Regions from separate parts of the Homo sapiens genome. Here region 1 is linked to region 2. The links are contacts of gene promoters, found by promoter capture Hi-C in blood cells and fetal thymus (Javierre and others, 2016). All regions are on one chromosome and are shown on one strand. Each heading gives the region's core, a stretch centred on a gene start or on the middle of the fragment in contact. The rest is flanking DNA. Distances are from core to core; before and after follow the strand shown. Region 1 holds the start of PGRMC1 (progesterone receptor membrane component 1). Region 2 holds the start of ZBTB33 (zinc finger and BTB domain containing 33).

What was found. Contacts are between HindIII fragments. The CHiCAGO score rates a contact against its expected background, and 5 or more counts as called.
Region 1: a contact is called between the fragment with the promoter of PGRMC1 here and the fragment with the promoter of ZBTB33 in region 2, in 2 of 17 cell types (activated CD4 T cells and non-activated CD4 T cells). The highest score is 7.8, in activated CD4 T cells.

The regions. Positions count from the first base shown.
Region 1 is chrX:119,231,625-119,237,733 of GRCh38, forward strand. It overlaps PGRMC1 (progesterone receptor membrane component 1), which reads left to right and starts at 4,661. Exons shown (of 3, transcript NM_006667.5): 1 at 4,661-5,067. The coding sequence starts at 4,740. It also overlaps the pseudogene NUDT19P6. RefSeq lists silencers at 4,384-4,433, 4,464-4,723, 5,124-5,273. The HindIII fragment of the contact is 8,490 bases long and covers 1-5,642 here.
Region 2 is chrX:120,245,772-120,252,861 of GRCh38, forward strand. It overlaps ZBTB33 (zinc finger and BTB domain containing 33), which reads left to right and starts at 5,041. Exons shown (of 3, transcript NM_001184742.2): 1 at 5,041-5,206; 2 at 6,898-6,999. It also overlaps a transcript of TMEM255A not described here. RefSeq lists an enhancer at 4,748-5,586. The HindIII fragment of the contact is 5,064 bases long and covers 673-5,736 here.

The DNA of each region.
Region 1 (6,109 bases), core at 3,411-5,910, 1.0 Mb before region 2:
GTTCAAGTTGGAAGAGATAAAAAAAATGAGAAGTGATACTGTATATAAGGAAGCAGTAAATGCAATGGGGGAAAATGAAGCAGGGAAGGAGGATGAGGAGTAGGAAGAAGGTGGTGTGAGATTTGAAAGTAGCGAGGGAATGACCCATGAGAATGTCTGGGGAAGGGCATTCCAGACAAATGGAATGACAAGTACAGAGGCCCTGAATTGGAAATATGGCTGCTTGTTCAAAGGGCAGCAAGGAGGCCACTGTAGCTGTAGTAGAGTGACCAGGGAAGAAAGTGGTGAGATCCTAATGTCTTAAAGGTAAGGGTGGGTAGAGTACCGCAGATCCTGTAGGGCCTTGTAGGTGCTATAAGGACTTGAGCTTTTACTCTGAGTGAGATGGGGAGCATCTTTGGATACTTAGGCTGTTTCCAGTTTTTTGCTATCATGTATCATGCTTTGTGATTCTTCTACTCAAATCTCTGTTCACATCTCTGAACACTTCCCTAGGGGAAATTCCTGGAAGTTAAATTTCTTGGCCACAGGCTAGGAATAGTTTGAGGCTTTTATTGCATATTGCCAAAGGACTTTCTAGAAAGCCTAGACCCTTTTACAATATAATTAAGTTCAACAAATATTTATTGCATGCCTACTATGTGCCAGACATGGTCTAGGGGCTTGAAATACATTGGTGAACAAAATGAATCTTGCATTCTAGCAATTTCACTCTTGCCAATTGTGTCAGAGTGCTTGTTTTACTCTGTGCTTGCCAACACCAAGTATTACCATTCTTAAAAAGCTCCAAGAAACAAGAGAAAAAAGAACACTCCAGTCATTTGAATGATGAGAAATGGTGCATTGTTTTTATGTTCCTTTGGATTTATTTGCTTCCTTACTAGGCTGAATTATTTCCCAAACATTTTCTAGCTAATCAGCCAATTGTTCTATTTTTCTCTGAAAGCTCTTTAAAACCTTTGAAAATAATTAAAAGGAGACAGAAAGTTTGAAAACACTAAAAGACTTAACATGTATCTTGGGAAATAAGTAGTCCTTGGGTCAAGTACATCGGCTTTAGGAATTGACTTGGAGCCAAAGAGCATATTAAGGCAACTCTCATGTTCTGAAGGGGGCTTTTTATTCAGGAGCACTCTTGCTTATTTCCAGATAACTTGAGAACTGCCACCCTGGAGGAGACCATTCCACTCAGCATTGATTCTGACATGAGCCTGAATGATGGGATGCTTTTCTTCAACAATCTCTACATCCCAGTGTTAGCTAATAGCCCACTTTATTGAACATCAAATCTGGTTTGCAAGCATTTATATTTTTAAACTGTATCACTTCTTGAGGTCTTAAGTTGCACAAGTTTTCTACCCTCCTTGTGAAGCAGGACTTCCTTTAATCCATTATCCTCCAAGGGGACACAGAGGTGTAGCAGAAGAGACACTGGACTACGATAAATGAGAATTATTAATCCTCCCCATCCCTCCATGAAAACACTTTCCCCAGATTTAATAGCGGTTACCTTTGAGGAAAGAGAATCAAGAGTGAGGAGAGGGACTTCAGTTGTCTTCTATATCTTCCCATAGTTTGAATTTTCTAACTTTAGACAAATATTACTTTGAAAAAACATTCCAGCAGGGGTTATCTGGGTGGGGAGCTAATGGCTTGGTTTTTGTTTTGTTTTTTTACTCTGTGTCTCTCTTTATTGGAAAAAAATGATAAAACTTTTATTATATAAAATTTCCCCCAGTTTTATAAAACAAAATGTGTGTGTGTGTGTGTGTGTGTGTGTGTGTGTGTGTGTATGTTGCATGTCTGCAAGAATATAAGCCAAACTGCTAATGTATGGGCCTGATTTAAGTACTGTTTGGGGAACTTGGAGAGGGAGAAAGGAGTTTCATTTTTTACTTTATACACTCACGTATTGTTTAAGTTTGTTATAGTGAACATGTATTATCATTCTACATTTTTTTTCAGAAAATAAATAATAAACCATTTTCCCCCCTGAGGTTAAAAGTGACACATGCCCATTGTGGAAAATGTAGAAAGGTATAAGGAAGAAACTAACAATCACAACAGTTAACATTTTAGCATATTTCTTTCCACGCTTTGTTTTATGAATTTTTTGACATAGTTGAGTTCATACTGTATATAGTTTTGTATCCTGTTTTTCCCTCAAGATTAAAACACAAGCGTTTTGCCATGTCATGATTTTTGGTAAAAGAATTTACCAAAACAGTTTTAGTTAAAAGAAGGTAGATTTATTAGATAAAGTAGGAAAATATGTTGTCAGAGAGACAAAGGGCAGCCTGCAAGAGAGAAGCCAACTGCCAGGAGACAAAGGCTTGCTGGAAATTTTATAGGATGGCGTTTATGCTGTCTGTTGAAGAGGTCTTTGTGTAATATTGATAATGCCAAGGTCGCAATGAGCTAACTTACAGGTGTCTGGTGATAGCTGGGCATGGGAAGATTGTGAATTATTTGCGCAGGAAGGCTGCATCTTGGTCATGAAGAAAGGGAGATTTGTAGCTTATTTGCTTTTTCTTTTTGCTATTTCATGCTCCCACCAGCCTGATTCCCTTTCCCTAATTAGGACTCCAGAATGATGATATTTGAATGGCCTTTTAATGGTTTTGTCACAATTCAAGTGAATTAATTCGCCATTTTATTTGAAGTCGGACATTTAGGTTGTTTCCAGTTTTTCTGTATTAAAAATGAATCTCTGCTGAGCATCTTAGTAATGAAATATTTGTCTGCGTTTCTGTCTCCTTGGGATGGATTCCTGAAAATGGAATTACTAGGTCAAAGAGCAGATTTCTAGAAGTGGGATTAATGGATAGAAAATATTTTTATGGATAATAAAAGGTTATACCCAACAGCGTATGTGAGTCTCACCACTCTCTCGCCAATAGTGTGTTATCCTTTTTTTTTTCCCTTTTATCTTTCCTGTAGAAAAGTAGTAGGTGACAGCGGCATCTCCATGCTTTTCTTTTTGTTACTAATGAGACTGAACATTTTTCATATGCTTATTCACCACTGGCATGCTCTCTTTTGTGAACTACCTGTTCCTATTTTTTCCCATTTATTGACTAGAATCTTATACATTTTCTTATCAATCCAAATGATCTCTCAAATAAATATTAACCCTTTGTCATATTAGTTGCAAATGAAAATATTTTATAAGTTTATTAGCTTTCTAAATTTTCTTGGCCATACATGTTAAAAGAGATAGATTCTAACTATAGACAAGTGCCCTCAGTTTGAGCCTGTTTCTCCATGATTAAATTGAAGAGTTTTGACAAAAGATTTGGAGGGGCTGTTTCAGCTAATCCCAAATTTAGCTCTGAGAAAAATGCCTGGGCCCGATACAAAGATTGTTTGGCTCATTGCACTTTATAATGATTTAAGAAGATGTGGGGGGCAGGGATGGAAGCAGTTTTTGCCAGAAATTTTTAGAATTCTGAGGTAGGAAGCCAATCTTTACTCAAGTCTCTTGCGTGTTGGGAGGAGGAGTAAGTTATGTGCAAGCCAACAGAACACTTGGTGGAAAAGTACTGCTCTGGGCTGCAGATGTGTGCACGGCTTGGTTTTAATTATTTGTTTCCCTCTCTATCCTTTCTTCTCCTCCCCTCCCCCCGCCACCAGAAAAAGGGCCAGATTAGGACGAGGCAACCCCTTCCTCCGTGGAGGTCTGCTTCTGTGCAGCCTGTTAGCACATCAAAGGCCGGATGAAATACCTAGGAAAGGAAGGGACCAGGCCTAGGATCCTTCCAAACTCCCGCCTTTGTCTGGGCTCCAGCTCAGGGTTATTGTGACTGCCAAGGGTAGCCTGACAGACTCCAAATAGAAGAACGCTGCCAAACAAAGAAACTTTCACATTATTCTGAGGGGGGAAAAAAGAGCAACAAGAGAACGTTGCTTGTTAATGCCTGGTGACTGAGCAAATCAGTAATTGCAAAAGGGTTTTTCGGAGAACAAACCCAAAGTTAACTGGGCGATCAGATTCGTTTCCCCAGATAATAGGGAGAGTTGTGCACTGACTTTAGCAATCCCGGGGGTGTCGGTCCCACAGCATCTGGGGGAGAATTGGGGAAGGGCCATCAAGGAGAGCGAATGGGGGTTCCCAAGGTGAAAATGAGTCGTGTAGGGCTCTAACATAGAAAATGGAGTTCGAAGAATGAGTTTCCTGTCTCCTAAGACAGCTTGGAGGGCCCGGGAACGGCAGGGGGAAGATGAGGGGCTTCAGAATGGGAGGCAGGGAAAAGCCTGCAGCAACAGAAAGGGAGTCGGTGTCTGGCGCGCATCAGGTGGCGGAGGGGCGCTCGCACAGAGCCCGGCAATGCCGAGGCCCTCCCAACGGGTCGGTCTGCGAGGAGCAAAAAAGGGGTTCAGAGGAGGGCAGCGCGTGCGTCGCGCTCAGCTATAGGATGGCGCGAGGATGGCGTGAGGCTGGGCTGGGGCCTCCCAGGTAGAACTGAGGGGGGCACCGCGCGGCCGCGGGGGAGCGGCGCCGGACTCTAGAGGCTTTGGAGGGGGCCTGAGGGCTGCGGGGCGGGACCGAGCAGGGCGGGGCGCTTAGGTGGCCTCGGGGGAGGCGGGGCTTGGAGGCTCCGCCCCTCAGGCCCCGCCTCCTCCCCGGCTAGTCTTTGGCCGCCGCCGAACCCCGCGCGCCACTCGCTCGCTCAGAGGGAGGAGAAAGTGGCGAGTTCCGGATCCCTGCCTAGCGCGGCCCAACCTTTACTCCAGAGATCATGGCTGCCGAGGATGTGGTGGCGACTGGCGCCGACCCAAGCGATCTGGAGAGCGGCGGGCTGCTGCATGAGATTTTCACGTCGCCGCTCAACCTGCTGCTGCTTGGCCTCTGCATCTTCCTGCTCTACAAGATCGTGCGCGGGGACCAGCCGGCGGCCAGCGGCGACAGCGACGACGACGAGCCGCCCCCTCTGCCCCGCCTCAAGCGGCGCGACTTCACCCCCGCCGAGCTGCGGCGCTTCGACGGCGTCCAGGACCCGCGCATACTCATGGCCATCAACGGCAAGGTGTTCGATGTGACCAAAGGCCGCAAATTCTACGGGCCCGGTACGCGGCCGGCGAGGGGGGCTTGGAGACAAAAGAAGGGGGCCCCGGCACGGGGCTGGGCGGGAGAGAGGCGAGGCGGGAGCGGGGCGCCCCTGAGTGGAGGGAGGAATGGCGGCGAGCTAGGGTAGGCGGGTAGGCGGGCAGGCGGAGAGCCGGGAGGCTCCCGGGGCGGGCAGGGAACAAGAGGCGCTCTAGAGGGGCTGCGGGCCAGTCAGGGACGCGGATCCCCGGCCCGCGCTGACAGCGCTGGGAGGGGGTTAGAGAAAGAAGGCTGAGGCGCTTAAGCCGGGGGTGGGTGGGACCACGAAGCTCGAAGGCGTTGAGGGGGGACACATCAAAGCCCAGGCTGTTGGGGTAGTTTTCGAAGGTCCTGGGCTTGGGGATTCCTGGAAGGAGGAGGGGGTAGTGTCGGGTTCTAGGAAGGAAATGAGGGTGTTCCGAGGGAGGCATGGGGGAGGGCGAGAGTGAGAAAAGGTCCAGACCTAGAGAAGACGGGAAGGCCAATGACACCGGGAGTAGGTTTGAAATATGAGGGTGTGGGAGAAAACGCCGAGACGGGATTAGCAGCAGGTAAAAGCTTTGTGCCCGGTGGATAGTGATGTGTGTGTGCACTCGTGGTGTGTGCATGCGCGGTGTGTGCGTGTTTAGTGTATGTGATTTATCAGGGGTGTGTGTGTGTGGTGTGTGCATGCGCGCTTGAAATGGGTCATGCGTCAGGTATGTGTGTGGCATGTGTTTGGTCTGTGTGCGCTTGTGCTGTGTGTGGCAGATGGGGAAAGGCTGGAAGGTGAACAAGGAGGAAGGGGGCTGTTTGAGGGAGGAATAAAGGCTGAATATGGTGGACAATGGTAACGTGGCAAGCTTTTAAGGTAATATGGTATTTAGTCTATAGCAGGAGAGAAAGGATTAGAAGCCAAGAAAAATTAAAATGGAGGGAGGGAGAAGTGGGAGGATACCAAGAAACAAAAGGAGTAGAGCTAAGAAGACTGCTGGGTGGGGGGATATCAGGAAAAGCCAACCAGAGGGAAATGAAGAATGGATG
Region 2 (7,090 bases), core at 3,791-6,290:
TAGGCCACTTATCTTTGAATTTCAAATAAAGAATAATGTTTTAGTATAAGTATGTTCCATACAATAATACAGTAGAAAGTGACTACTTTCTATTAAAGATGAGGTGATAGCCACGGTTGTACTTCTTCCTCTCCTACTACTTCTAAAATTTGTTTCTTATATTCTTTTTTTGTTTGCTTGTTTTGTTTTGTTTTGAGATGGAGTCTCACTCTGTCACCCAGGCTGGAATGCAATGGCGCGATCTCAGCTCACTGCAACCTCCACCTCCTGGGTTCAAGTGATTCTCCTGCCTCAGCCTCCCAAGTAGCTGGGATTATAGGTGCCCGCCACCACACTCGGCTAATTTGTGTATTTTTAGTAGAGACGGGGTTTGGTCACGTTGGCCAGGCTGGTCTCGAATTCCTGACCTCAAGTGATCCTCCCACCTCGGCCTCCCAAAGTGCTGGGATTACAGGCATGAGCCACCGTGCCCGGCCTTGTTCCTTATATTCTAAGGCTTTTCGCTTGCTGTTTGAGAAAGGGAAGTGGGAGCAGCCCCTGATATCCACAAACTGACCTCGCACTCACAATTAGGCATGTTCTTCTCTTGTTGAACATAAACTCACAGAACACCAACCCAAGACAAGATCACTGGGAGCCTGATCAAGTGAGACAAAACAAGACCACTTCATAAGCTTGTCTAAGCACAGACAAAAACAAGCTCACTGTGACACCCAGAAAACACCAAACACCCCTTCTTGGCCAAGATAGGTCACTGCTACTTTGCCAGTTAATGTACAGCTTTATCCTCCCTCTAGTCTGCCCTCCCTATAAATAAGATTTATTGAAATGTGCAATCATACAATTGCCCCTGCTTTCTGATGTATCTGAGACGGAACTCCTGATTCCTAGACCTTCCCCCAAATTGTCCAAATCCTATAATAGGTTCATTCTAACAACTTCTTATTGAAACACATCATAGTTACCTATAGTGTGTGTTGTCCCTCCCTGGAGTAAGAGTAATAAACTCAATCTGTCAACTATGGGTATGTTTCTGGTAGTCTTTGGTTGAAGGGCAATGACACATTCCACTGCCTAAAATGTTCTTCCCCAGATATTTATATGGCCCTTTCCCTTAGTTCATTCCATTCTTTGGCCATACATCATCTTTTCAGAGAGGCTGTGCTTGACCACACAATTTACAATAACACCCTCATCATTCTCTATCCCTTTGCTCTATTTTTCTTCATAGCACTTACTACTTTCTGTTTTTGTATTATATATTTATATTATATATATACAAATGTTGATTGTATGTCTCTTCCATTATAATGTAAGTTCCATGAAGACCAATATCTCAACTTGATGATAATTATATCCACAGTGCCTACAACACTGCCTACAACACTGCCTGGCACAGAGTAAATACTAAATGATATATGTTTAATATGTATTGAAAAAATGAATGAAGTTTACAGTGTCGGGCTTTATAAGTTTCATTGTCACATAGTCATAATCAATCTGTTGTTTGGACTTAGTCTTCCACTTAAATAGATTGGCTTACTGCAAAATCTCCATTCTTAATTCTTTATTTGGACTCATTTCTTATTTGATTTGACTTCATATATTGCCAAGTAATTTTCACAAATGACTCATAGGTAGTATATTCCCTCAATTTTGTTCAAGTTTGGAATAAGCTGTCTGTTGCTTTTTTTGGTAGATTGTATTATTGTTAGCAATTATCGACGACTCCTTTTCCAGTAGGAGAGTTATATATCCCTATCCAATTGACTTTGGAAAGTTTTAAGAAAAAAGGGCAATAGGCAGTATTAGACAGGTCACTTAAAGAGAGATTTGTTGGGATTAAGCAGAAAAGGGGATAGTGGTGAGAAAGCAACATATATTTGGCACTTACTGGGTTCCAGACACTCATTCGTTCAGCATTAAGCAACCATCTCTATCTACAATTTGTTGGGCCAAGGGATGCTTCACAAATAAGTTAGTACTTGAGTTGGGTTTTTATGGAAAACCAGGCACTTGCCAGGAACTAACCAGACAACAGGTTAAGCGAGGTGTGGCTATGAAGGGAATGACTATTCCAAGCTCAGGGCTCCAGGCTCAGACTTGAAGGCAGTAAATTGCATGGCATATTCTGGAAACCGTGAGCAGTTTGACACTATGCATAGTTGATTCATTTAATCCTCAAAGTGACTCTGTGGGAAGGTATTATTATCCCTATTTTACAGATGAAGAATCAGGCATAAGATCAAAGAGCTAGGAAGTGGCAGTATCAGAATTCCAACCCACTCACATCTTCTGCTTAAGACTTTGTTTCTTCCACTCTACCTTACTAGGGTTTCTGCAGATCCCATGGAGTGACCTTACCAAATCTGTAACCATAAGCATAACATATAGGAAGTGCTCTAAGACTGAACGAGTGTCACTTTATCTTTTGTCATCAATTAATATATATTAAGCACCCACAAGATTGTTGGCATTTTAACACAGGAGAGGACAGTTACCGCCCTCATGGAATTCACAATCAAGGTCAAAAGGCAAGCAAACGCTGACAATACGGCTATAAAACCTAACTCATCCCATTTTCAGCCAATAAAACCTTTCTAGAATGTGAAACAATTGATACCTCCAAATCCATTTGATATAGGTTGTTCTCTGACCTCAGGTGATCCTCCCACCTCGGCCTCCCAAAGTGAGTTGTTGTTGTTTGAAATAGAGTTCAAACTACTGGGTTGTTTGAAGTAGGGTTAAGCCCTCCAGATTAAAAACAAAAGTAAAAGTGAAATGACTAGTTGAGAAACAGAAAATTAATTAAACTTTCCAGTGATCCTGTCCCAAAGACAATTATTAAGGCCACTCAGGCTTCTTGGTCTGTTCTGCTTTCCTACAAATAAAATTCCTTTCCTGACCATTGGACCCCCTTTCATTATAGGTAGCTTTTAAACTTGTTTAGTTTTTGCTTGGTTAGGGGGTGAGAGATACAGCAAGAAGGGAAGAGAAGGTTTACTGTGCTTTGAATGAACAGGTTTCATCATATGTTAGTTGGTACTCCAAACTTTTAAAATACTTTCAGGAAAGTGACAATGGCATGGCAATTCTGTTGCCAGCCTCAGTGATGTAAATGCTGGTACAAAATAAATTGCATTGTGCCTTCCAGTTTACTGAGAGCTGACCAACAAACATGATATCTAGAGTGGCATCTATTGCCACTGTGATCTGTATTTCAAAGATATGTCTCATTTTAGTTTTCATCAATTAAGCCACTGAAAGATAAATAGATCCTAAACTTTCAAGATATACTTTGTTCTAATTACTAAGATTTTTTTTTTTACTACTAAGTTTTGGGGAGGATAACTCAGAAAAATGGTTATTAAGTACTCAGTTGCCAGGAAAAATACTAATCTGCCTTAGTTTATTTTACAACAGCATACTTCTATTTGCCATGAAATATCTTTATAGTAAACAATGAAACTTTTCATAATGCTAAGTCCTAATCAAAAATCAATAATGCAATAATTCCCACATAGTTTGTTTTCCCACAATACAAAATCTTGGAGAAGAGCTTAAGGAATTGCATATTTCCATGTGAAATACAGCTATATTATACCACTTTGATGTTTTATTATACCATGTGGCTTTACTTTATTGAGGAGGATGAAGAATAGATTAGGGATAGGTAGATGAGATGATGACATCCATGTCTGATTTCCTGTCAGAGAAAATTAGATATAGTTACATCTGTTTTCAGTCTAATATCCTGATGGACATTTTCAGCAAGATTTTTTAGGAAAGAAGCACAGGAATTCCACTGCAAGGTATTAATAGGTACAAATTTAAGATTTTGGAAATGAATGCAGTATTATCCTATATATATCTTTTTAAAAAGATAATGAAGGTAGTGAATGGCCTTAATTATGGCAGAAAAAAAGTTACTATTTGGTTCCTTAGTTGAATACGATCAATAACCAGCCTAAAAGGGAAACATTTTGCTCTCCAAACACCCATCCTGTTGCTTCATTTATTATGGTACTCAGTTGGAAGGGTATTACCAGAGGATTTTAAAAAATTATGTAACTCACAATGTATTTTTTCGGTCATTAAACAATCACTGAACACATACTATGTGTCAGACACTAAAGCCCTCTGAAGATGAAATGTTATGGAAATAGTAATAATAAAAAATTAAAATAGTAACAATAAAAAATTAAAAATGCAAGTGTTAATATTATTAATCTTTCAAGATACAGGTCAAATGACAGCATTCAATTTGCTATTCTCTTCTCTCTGCTTCTACACCTTGTACAAATATTTTTGTCCATGTTTGTGTACCTACCTACTGAGCTCCCTAAAGAGGTAGAGACCTTTGGGTTATTCATTTTTGTATTCCCGAGAGCCTAACATAGGGTTTTTGCTACAGATCAAGCAGGGGGTCAGTAAATGCTAGTTGGAATGAGGGAATTAACATAGTACTGCACCATTTAGTATTCAATTAAGAAGATAGTTGTCCAAACACTAAATTTCTTTCTTAAAAGTAGTTACTGTAATGTAGTTGCTCTCTTGTTATCCCAGAACTTGAATTACCATAAGAAGTTGTGAATTTCTATTTGATTGTATGTATTTTGATTATATTTCAAGATGGTTTATCATCTAGCAAACAGTCTAATAGAGCAGATTCAAACTTGCAAAATAAATGAAACCTGTATAGTCTCTAAAAGTTTGTATGCCCTAGAAGTTCACATTGAATTTCGATGAAAACGACTCGCTTCCCTTCCATCCAATTGCTTGCGACTGTCTTACCCGATCTTTCCCTTTCCTTTTTTCCCACCCGTTAGCCCTCCGGAAAGAGCCGAACACACAAGAGCTTCCCAGTCTTCCTCCGCCCCCTTGCGGAAAGAACCGAAGGCAGAGCACGGCGCCGAAGTGGAGCCGCCTCAAGCTCGGGCCCTTCCGGACCACCCCGGCCTGCGCTCGGAAGAGGAGGGCGCCTTTGGCTTCAGCGCTTCGCCCCCGCGCTGTGCCCTCTGTCGGCGGCGTGGGGCAGCTGTAGCAGCGTTGGCGGCAGGAGGCGGCGGCCGCGTCGACGTCGACCCAGACTGGAGCGACGTTTAAAGAAGGGGCAGAATCGCTGGGGAGTGCGGCTTCTTCTTGTTGGGGGACTCCCAGCCTTCCGCGCGTCCGGAGGAGGAGAAGCGGCGGCGCCGGGAAGCAGGTGAGGACCCGGCCCCAATCAGGGAGGGGGCGAAGGAGCGCGCTTGCCTTCTCCGTCCCTGGGCCGCGCCTGCGTTTGCATTCGCCTCACTTGAACCAGGAAGCGGCAGAGTCGGAGGCTCAGCTCCTCCGGCTCTTTCTTTGTGTGGGCCGGGGAGCGAAGGAGGGGACGAGCCGCGAGGGCCGCGGCGCGGTCCCCTTCGCCGTTAGGGGCCGAGGGGCTGCCGGTGCCCTGGGTAGGCCCCGGGGCTTGGGGAATCCATCACAGAGACCCACTTGGCTTTTCCCTCGCCCCTCTCGCTGCTTTTTTGTGCCTCTTTTACTCCCCTAGCCCCTACTTTGATTTAGAGCTTTTCTGCCAGGCCCATCCTCCCCTTCCGTCCCCTTCCCGGGGCACAACAATGCCGCCTGCTTCGCTTCATCCCCCCCCCAACACCCCACCCTGCCGTTCGCCACCTTCTACTTTCCCTGGTACCCCATATTCCTCCCGCCCTCACTCTGCTGTTTGTACCTCCGTCTGTATTTGCAAGAAGCTTGCTTTGCACGTGAATTGGGGTTAAAAACCTCGGTTGCAGCTGGCAGGGTCCATATGGGGAAGAGGGAGGTGGAGGAAGGGAGATGAGGTTCAGCTGCCGCAGGGAGCCGCGTGTCGGTTTGTTTCACTCCCTCGCGGATGGCTTTTATCTCTTTCCACCGTCACCAGCTCCTCCGAACTGGCCCTCGGTCAAGGGTTTCACAGTGATGTGGAATGGCTTTTCCACAGTCGAATCGCATATCTTCGGAGTGGGTTCAGACCGACTTGTGCTGTCTCTGGGGCCACCCTGAGTGGGAGGAGGGGGACACATAAACGAAACGAAACCGAGTCCCAGTGTCACCTGGACACGTACATTTGACGCATTCCCATATTGGAAGAACCCGGGAGCAAATGACAAAAATTGCGTGCCGTTTTCAGAAAACCTGTCTTTCCACTTAATATCGACTTCTGTCGAAATGCCCGTATTTCGGAAGCCCTGGTTTTTGGCAAACTGTCCAAAGGTCACCCTTTCTGATGATGAATGCCTTTATGGTAACCTGGAATTCCTTGGTACTGTTAACATGCAACACCTTCTAATAATGTTTTAAATCTTGATTTTTAGACTTTTTGCCTGCTGTTTGTTCTTAAGGTATCATTTTGAAAAATTTAGAAGGTATTTGAGACAGAACTGCCCTCCACCTGTATATAACTTAAGCATTGTGACATCGACACCCTTTTGGTAACTTCAAAGGGAGAGAATATTAATAAAAATATTTCTTCACTAAAAGTACTTGTCAACTAATTGTTAATATATAATATCCATATATTAAAATATATCCATATATAATATGTATGGATATTATATATTTTTAATATATGGGTTTTTTTAAACTCTGGCCTCTTTGTTACTGGAAATATCTTCTGCAAAGTGCAAAAAATGATGTTTTGCTAGTGCTACACAACAATGCATTCTACTGACATCATCCCCTTTTTCTAGAGTAGTCTATTCCAATAAGTTAATGTTTTCATTTTCACTAACTCATTTGGTGTGGAAAAAATTCTCATACCAATGCATATGATTCTTTACCAACAAAAATAAAATGTTTCGTGTTTTCTTGGAAGTGGGCATTTAGAAATGGTAAACTTTCCTTTTCCTTTGTCATATTTTTTCATGATAGTGTCTGTTGACTTCACTTGGCACTGTTTAACATTCCACCTCTGGAAATTGTAAAGATGGAGAGATGAGGGGAAGGGACAAGGGGATGAAGAAAGAGGAAAGGGTAAGAAAGATGTTTAATAGTTTATCAAGATGAGGCACCCCAATTTAAATAACAGAAAAATAATGGGACGTTGGGAGGTAATAATTGTCAG